Linked DNA regions of Homo sapiens: region 2 is linked to region 1. The links are contacts of gene promoters, found by promoter capture Hi-C in blood cells and fetal thymus (Javierre and others, 2016). All regions are on one chromosome and are shown on one strand. Each heading gives the region's core, a stretch centred on a gene start or on the middle of the fragment in contact. The rest is flanking DNA. Distances are from core to core; before and after follow the strand shown.

Region 1 (3,293 bases), core at 443-2,942:
CTTCATTTCTCAGTGTTTTTTTCTCCATGAATGGTAGCACCATTCTCTTTCAAGAAAGAGAAATACTTCCCCTTGGGATTATCCTATCTCTACTTATTGCTGCAGGGGCTTCCAAAATTAGGTTTTCTGTGTTCAGTCTTGCATTCACACTTCTGAAACCCAGAGCTGACCGAGACAAATTCTTCAACTTCCTGTCAGTCCCAACATAGATTTAAAATTCCTAACCTGGCTCATGAGGTTCACCATGTATTCCTGCTTCCCTAAGTCAGCCTCATATCACACCAACCTGTGTGTGGAGTGGCTAAATACTCTAGCCAGGCAAGCTCTCTCAGTTCTTCTACCTGGCTCCTCTGGAGCCCTCCTTATTGCTCATCCCATTCTTAGCCTGATTCAAGATTCCTGGTCCTTCAAATCTCTCTTTAAGTGTCCTTACCTGGATCTTTCTCTAGTTAGTACAAATTTTTCTATCTACCATTGGAGCGAACATTTTTTGAAACTTTGTATCAGTCCTGCCTTACTCTTGGTGGAATCCTGTGGTCCTAGTCAAGTGCCTGCTCCATGAATGTGCTGAATAAATGAATAAGCATTTTAATTGTGTATCTGTCATTAGTGTCAGATGTGTTATTTATTCCAGCATGGTTTTAGCACACAGACACACTCTTTGATGCAGACTTTTCTTTTCTTTTTACATATAGCAACAATAAAAAACTAGACTTTCATCTCCTGAAAATATCAGTCTAATAATCACCTATGGCTGTCTCTCTGGTTGCTGAAGGAAAAAAAAAAAAAAGGCAGGGCACACCTGGATTGCATTAGAATGAGACTCACTACCCAGTTCAGGTGTGTTGCGTTGTGGGTCTCCGGCACATTTCAGAGGCTCATTAGGACCCTGACCCCACACTGGGGTTTACACCCCTAAAAGCAGGTGTGTCCCGTGGCAACTGAGTGGGTGCGTGAAAAGGGGGGATCATCAATTACCAGCTGGAGCAATCCGAATCGGTTAAAGTGAATCAAGTCACAGTGCTTCCTTAACCCAACCTCTCTGTTGGGGTCAGCCACAGCCTAAACCGCCTGCCGTTCAGCCTGAGAGGCTGCTGCTAGCCTGCTCACGCATGCAGCCCGGGCTGCAGAGGAAGTGTGGGGAGGAAGGAAGTGGGTATAGAAGGGTGCTGAGATGTGGGTCTTGAAGAGAATAGCCATAACGTCTTTGTCACTAAAATGTTCCCCAGGGGCCTTCGGCGAGTCTTTTTGTTTGGTTTTTTGTTTTTAATCTGTGGCTCTTGATAATTTATCTAGTGGTTGCCTACACCTGAAAAACAAGACACAGTGTTTAACTATCAACGAAAGAACTGGACGGCTCCCCGCCGCAGTCCCACTCCCCGAGTTTGTGGCTGGCATTTGGGCCACGCCGGGCTGGGCGGTCACAGCGAGGGGCGCGCAGTTTGGGGTCACACAGCTCCGCTTCTAGGCCCCAACCACCGTTAAAAGGGGAAGCCCGTGCCCCATCAGGTCCGCTCTTGCTGAGCCCAGAGCCATCCCGCGCTCTGCGGGCTGGGAGGCCCGGGCCAGGACGCGAGTCCTGCGCAGCCGAGGTTCCCCAGCGCCCCCTGCAGCCGCGCGTAGGCAGAGACGGAGCCCGGCCCTGCGCCTCCGCACCACGCCCGGGACCCCACCCAGCGGCCCGTACCCGGAGAAGCAGCGCGAGCACCCGAAGCTCCCGGCTGGCGGCAGAAACCGGGAGTGGGGCCGGGCGAGTGCGCGGCATCCCAGGCCGGCCCGAACGCTCCGCCCGCGGTGGGCCGACTTCCCCTCCTCTTCCCTCTCTCCTTCCTTTAGCCCGCTGGCGCCGGACACGCTGCGCCTCATCTCTTGGGGCGTTCTTCCCCGTTGGCCAACCGTCGCATCCCGTGCAACTTTGGGGTAGTGGCCGTTTAGTGTTGAATGTTCCCCACCGAGAGCGCATGGCTTGGGAAGCGAGGCGCGAACCCGGCCCCCGAAGGGCCGCCGTCCGGGAGACGGTGATGCTGTTGCTGTGCCTGGGGGTCCCGACCGGCCGCCCCTACAACGTGGACACTGAGAGCGCGCTGCTTTACCAGGGCCCCCACAACACGCTGTTCGGCTACTCGGTCGTGCTGCACAGCCACGGGGCGAACCGATGGTGAGTAGAGTTGGACTGATGCGCCCTCAGCAGCTCAGAGCGGCGTGAGAATGGCGCCCTAGGGATTCCCTGCCCGATTCAAACTTTCCTCCCTCCCAAGGAGGCAGGAGGGAAACGCTGCGAGAGCCAGCTCGCTGGAAATCTGCCAGGGAAACTAACTTATCTTGGGGCGGCAGCGCCCCGGGTGCGTTATGGTGCAAGGTCTTGGAGCTTCGAGTCGGGGGTGGTGGGCGGAGGAGGAGGTGGGGAAGCTGCCCTGCTGCGGACTGCACATCTGTGGCGACAGGGAGCTCAGTGGGCAGCACAGCTCACGTCTGAGCGCACGTGCACGTGTCTCGCTTTAGGCTCCTAGTGGGTGCGCCCACTGCCAACTGGCTCGCCAACGCTTCAGTGATCAATCCCGGGGCGATTTACAGATGCAGGATCGGAAAGAATCCCGGCCAGACGTGCGAACAGCTCCAGCTGGGTGAGTTGGGTATGGGACCAGGAGTTAGTGACCTCCCGACCCCCCATGTGGACCCCACCATAGGGCAAGTCCTGGAAAGATTCACGTTGCCTGTTACTTCTGGTTTAAAGAGCATAAAGTTTTCAGTTTCAACTCCATCTCATCTTGCCTCCTTAATATAAAAGGGATTCCCTTTCTGTTAATATCGTTCTCCCTTTTCCTTATGGCAATGATTGCAGTACTCTGACAACTATGCTAGAGAAATTTCTTATGATACCTTCTCTTCATCTCTCCCCGTCTCTCCGTGTGTAAAGCACATTTTAGACTCTCTCAGCGTATTAAGGACAGGATCCAGCTAAGCCAAGACTTGAGAATTTTATTTCCATCTTTGACCTATCAACCCTCTTAAAGAACAGGCTAAGGAGCATATCAGGAATAGCAATTGGAATTGATCCCATATCCCGTCGTTTAACCTAAAGGCCTAAAAAAAAAAGTGATAGTTTTACTTACAATATACAATCTAAAAGAAAAGGAAAATTGGCATCTTCATCGTTAATGTAGTATAATTTTCCATTCCCAAAACCGTCATCCAAAACTCATGTTATATGGGTCCATCTTTTTGCAGTCATTTCTCAATGTCTCAGATTTGTGACAAGTTGAAAAATGTGTACTGATAGAGGGGAGAAGTTT
Region 2 (3,293 bases), core at 499-2,998, 1.3 Mb after region 1:
AAAGGATCATTCTCTGTTTTCTGATAGTGTATATGGCCATTTTAGTGGGCACAGATCAGGATTTTTACAGTTTACTTGGAGTGTCCAAAACTGCAAGCAGTAGAGAAATAAGACAAGCTTTCAAGAAATTGGCATTGAAGTTACATCCTGATAAAAACCCGGTAGGTAAACGTTTGTTTTTAAAAATATTTGATTATATTTTTGGTACATTTTGATATTTATTTAAATTGCTTTAAATGATCAAATGCTTAAGAATAATCATATGTCAAAATTATAATTCAACTTGTATGCTAGAAACAAAAGCACCAAAATGTTCTGGATTATTTAGGATCCCGTGAAGGAATGTCAGTACCAAAAATTCAGTTCCCTCTTAATTTGTAGACGATTTTCCAACAATTCTATTAAAGACATTAACCCCAAAACAAACGATAATATCCGTGAAGTAGTTGAAGTAGTTTTCTTATTAAAGTAGGTTAAGATCAAGTGTTTTAGAACAGGAACAAAAATATTTTTTTAAAACTCAGAGGGTATGACTTGCTAAAAATAGAAGTAATAGCTAATAATAGCATGTTTTAACTTTGACTGTTTTCTTCTGTGTATGCACAAGTCCACAAACCAGAGTTAGAAAGTTTTATAAATTAATACTTCACAGCAGCTGAATATAATGCCAGTCATAAATATTTATGTACACATTAATGTAAATCTTTCAAAACTAAACTCATTTTAATTTTTATGGTGTTTTTGTAATTTATTTGATTATTTCTTAGTGAGATTTAGCGTTCATCATTAACAAGAAGACATAGTTATAATTTTCTCTTTTCTAGGTAGAAGTTTTAAAATAGGATTATTTTCATTGCATAAAGCTGAGCAAGAGAAACAATATTTCTTTAAATATTGTTTAGTTGATTATCTTTTCCTAAGATCCACATTCTATTTAAGGTTTTTATTTTTTTTTAATTTTTCTTTAAAATTTCAAATAATGATTTTTAAGTTTCCATATAAAAGACAGTAGACCTTCTACCATCCGAGTATTATTTAAATGAAAGCATCCTTCAGAAACAAATTTTATGAAGCACAGTAACAAGGAAGAAACATTTCCGATCCAATTTTGGATTGTTTTCTTTTTTTTTTTTTTTTTTTTTTTGAGATAGGGTCTCACTCTCTTGCCCAGACTGGAGTGCAGTGACGCCAGCGGCTTCCTGCAACTTCTGCATCACAGGCTTAAGCAATTCCCCTGCCTCACCCTCCTGAGTAGCTGGGATTACAGGCGTGCGTCACTACTGCCCAGCTAGTTTTTGTGTTTTTAGTAGAAACGGGGCTTCACCATGTTGGCCAGGCTGGTCTCGATCTCCTGACCTCAAATGATCCACCCTCCTCAGTCTCCCAAAGTACTGGGATCGATTTTGGGGTGTTTTCTGATACTGGCTTTTATGTAATTAGCTGATAGATTGGGGCACATCCTTTTTTAATTAAGTTGATTTTACCTCAAATAGAAAAATAACCTACAAATGTATTGATTTATAATTGTTATAGGAGTAAAAAATATTTATGAAATTAAGAGTTTCAACAGGCTTATTATTTTCAGCTGCATTTTTTAGGAAGAATAACTCATGGTCTGATAACGTCTGTCAACCTTTTGAAGAGTCAATTATTTCATTACTTTTCTTACTTTTTTTTTTTTTTTTTTGAAGATTATAGTTTCTTAAAAAATACTTCATTTCAACCCATGGTAACTCATGTCATGTTGTATTACCCCTCCTTATGTTGGTATATGGTCTCCCAGAAGTTACTAGATTAATTAAACCTACATATATGTTTTGAAGAAACTTGGATTGTGTATCTGAAATAATTGTATTATATCTAATATTTTTTAACAGAATAACCCAAATGCACATGGCGATTTTTTAAAAATAAATAGAGCATATGAAGTACTCAAAGATGAAGATCTACGGAAAAAGTATGACAAATATGGAGAAAAGGGACTTGAGGATAATCAAGGTGGCCAGTATGAAAGCTGGAACTATTATCGTTATGATTTTGGTAAGGTGATACGATATTACTTATGAAATGTGTTTTATCTGAGTAAAAGAAAAGTGAATTCTGTTTCACCACTTAGCTTATATATTTAAGATGCGTCACTTTGATTAGCTCCTTTTAATTTGCTGTGGGAGTGAAATTTAAAAGGAATGTCAGTTGGTATACAGAGATGATCTGTACAGATATGAAGTTGTATTGGTTAAATCTTGTTAAATACTTTTAAAATAAGGATTGCTATTTAATAAAAAATATGCATTCATGGACTGCATAATGACATTTCACTTAACAATGGATTGTATGTAGGACATTGGTCCCATGAAATTATAATACCATATTTTTACTGTACCTTTTCTATATTTAAATACAAAGATACTTAGCATTGTGTTACAGTTGCCTATGGTATTCAGCAGTAACATGCTGTACAGATTTGTAGACTAGGTGTGTAGTAAGCTATACTATCTAGGTTTGTGTAAGTACACTCTGTGATGTTTTTGCAACAACAAAATTCCCTAACAACACATTTCTCAGAATGTGTCCCATTAGTAAGTGATGTATGACTATATGTTTGCATTAGGGGTAGCTAAATATTTCTTTCAGTATTTTTTAGTATTGAATAATATTAATTTCTTTCAATATATTTTAGAGCATCATATTGTCCAAGAAAGGCGAAACTTCAAGTTTAGTAATGATCTCTTCAATAGAAATGCCGTCCTTCTCATATGGAACCCTTACTGATTTTTAAGGTGTTTTGGCCTTCGGTTGACATTAAGGTCAATACCTTGAAACATTATCAATAAAGGTTCCATATGAGAAGGACGAAAGGTGTTTTTTTTCTTAAACATGGAGGAAAAAATAAGGTGGAAGGAGGAAACAAAGTAAAGGAACTAAGGAAGAGAGATTGTAAACACACAGGTATCAAGGGAGGAAGGTGTGTTCAGAGACCCAGTGTTTCTCCTAGTCATTAATTAACCTCAAATGCAGGCTAAGAACTGAATATGCTTCTGTATTAGACTAAATGAAGTATTTTAAATTTATATCTGGAGGATTTGCTTTTAGTAAATATGATTTTTTTTCAAAATAGTATTTTCAAGTATATTCTCTACACCTTGATAGTCTATATCAAGAGTTAGCAGACTGCATTTCATAGGCCAAATCTGGCTTGCCATTTGCTTTTATAAATAAGTTTTATTGGAATGGAATTACTTTAATTTGTTTACATAATATATGTGACTTCTTTCACACTTCAAGAGCAGAGT

Evidence for each region. Contacts are between HindIII fragments. The CHiCAGO score rates a contact against its expected background, and 5 or more counts as called.
Region 2: a contact is called between a fragment that was not itself captured here and the fragment with the promoter of ITGA4 in region 1, in 1 of 17 cell types (total B cells). The highest score is 5.7, in total B cells.

What each region holds. Positions count from the first base shown.
Region 1 is chr2:181,455,694-181,458,986 of GRCh38, forward strand. ITGA4 (integrin subunit alpha 4) reads left to right here and starts at 1,693. Exons shown (of 28, transcript NM_000885.6): 1 at 1,693-2,158; 2 at 2,503-2,624. The coding sequence starts at 1,962. RefSeq lists enhancers at 1,200-1,309, 2,030-2,219, 2,280-2,329, 2,690-2,739 and a silencer at 1,490-1,879. The HindIII fragment of the contact is 9,740 bases long and covers 1-3,293 here.
Region 2 is chr2:182,718,130-182,721,422 of GRCh38, forward strand. DNAJC10 (DnaJ heat shock protein family (Hsp40) member C10) reads left to right here. Exons shown (of 24, transcript NM_018981.4): 3 at 1-161; 4 at 1,878-2,040. Among named protein-coding and RNA genes, the nearest start is that of DNAJC10, 3.5 kb to the left of the region's middle. The HindIII fragment of the contact is 3,267 bases long and covers 116-3,293 here.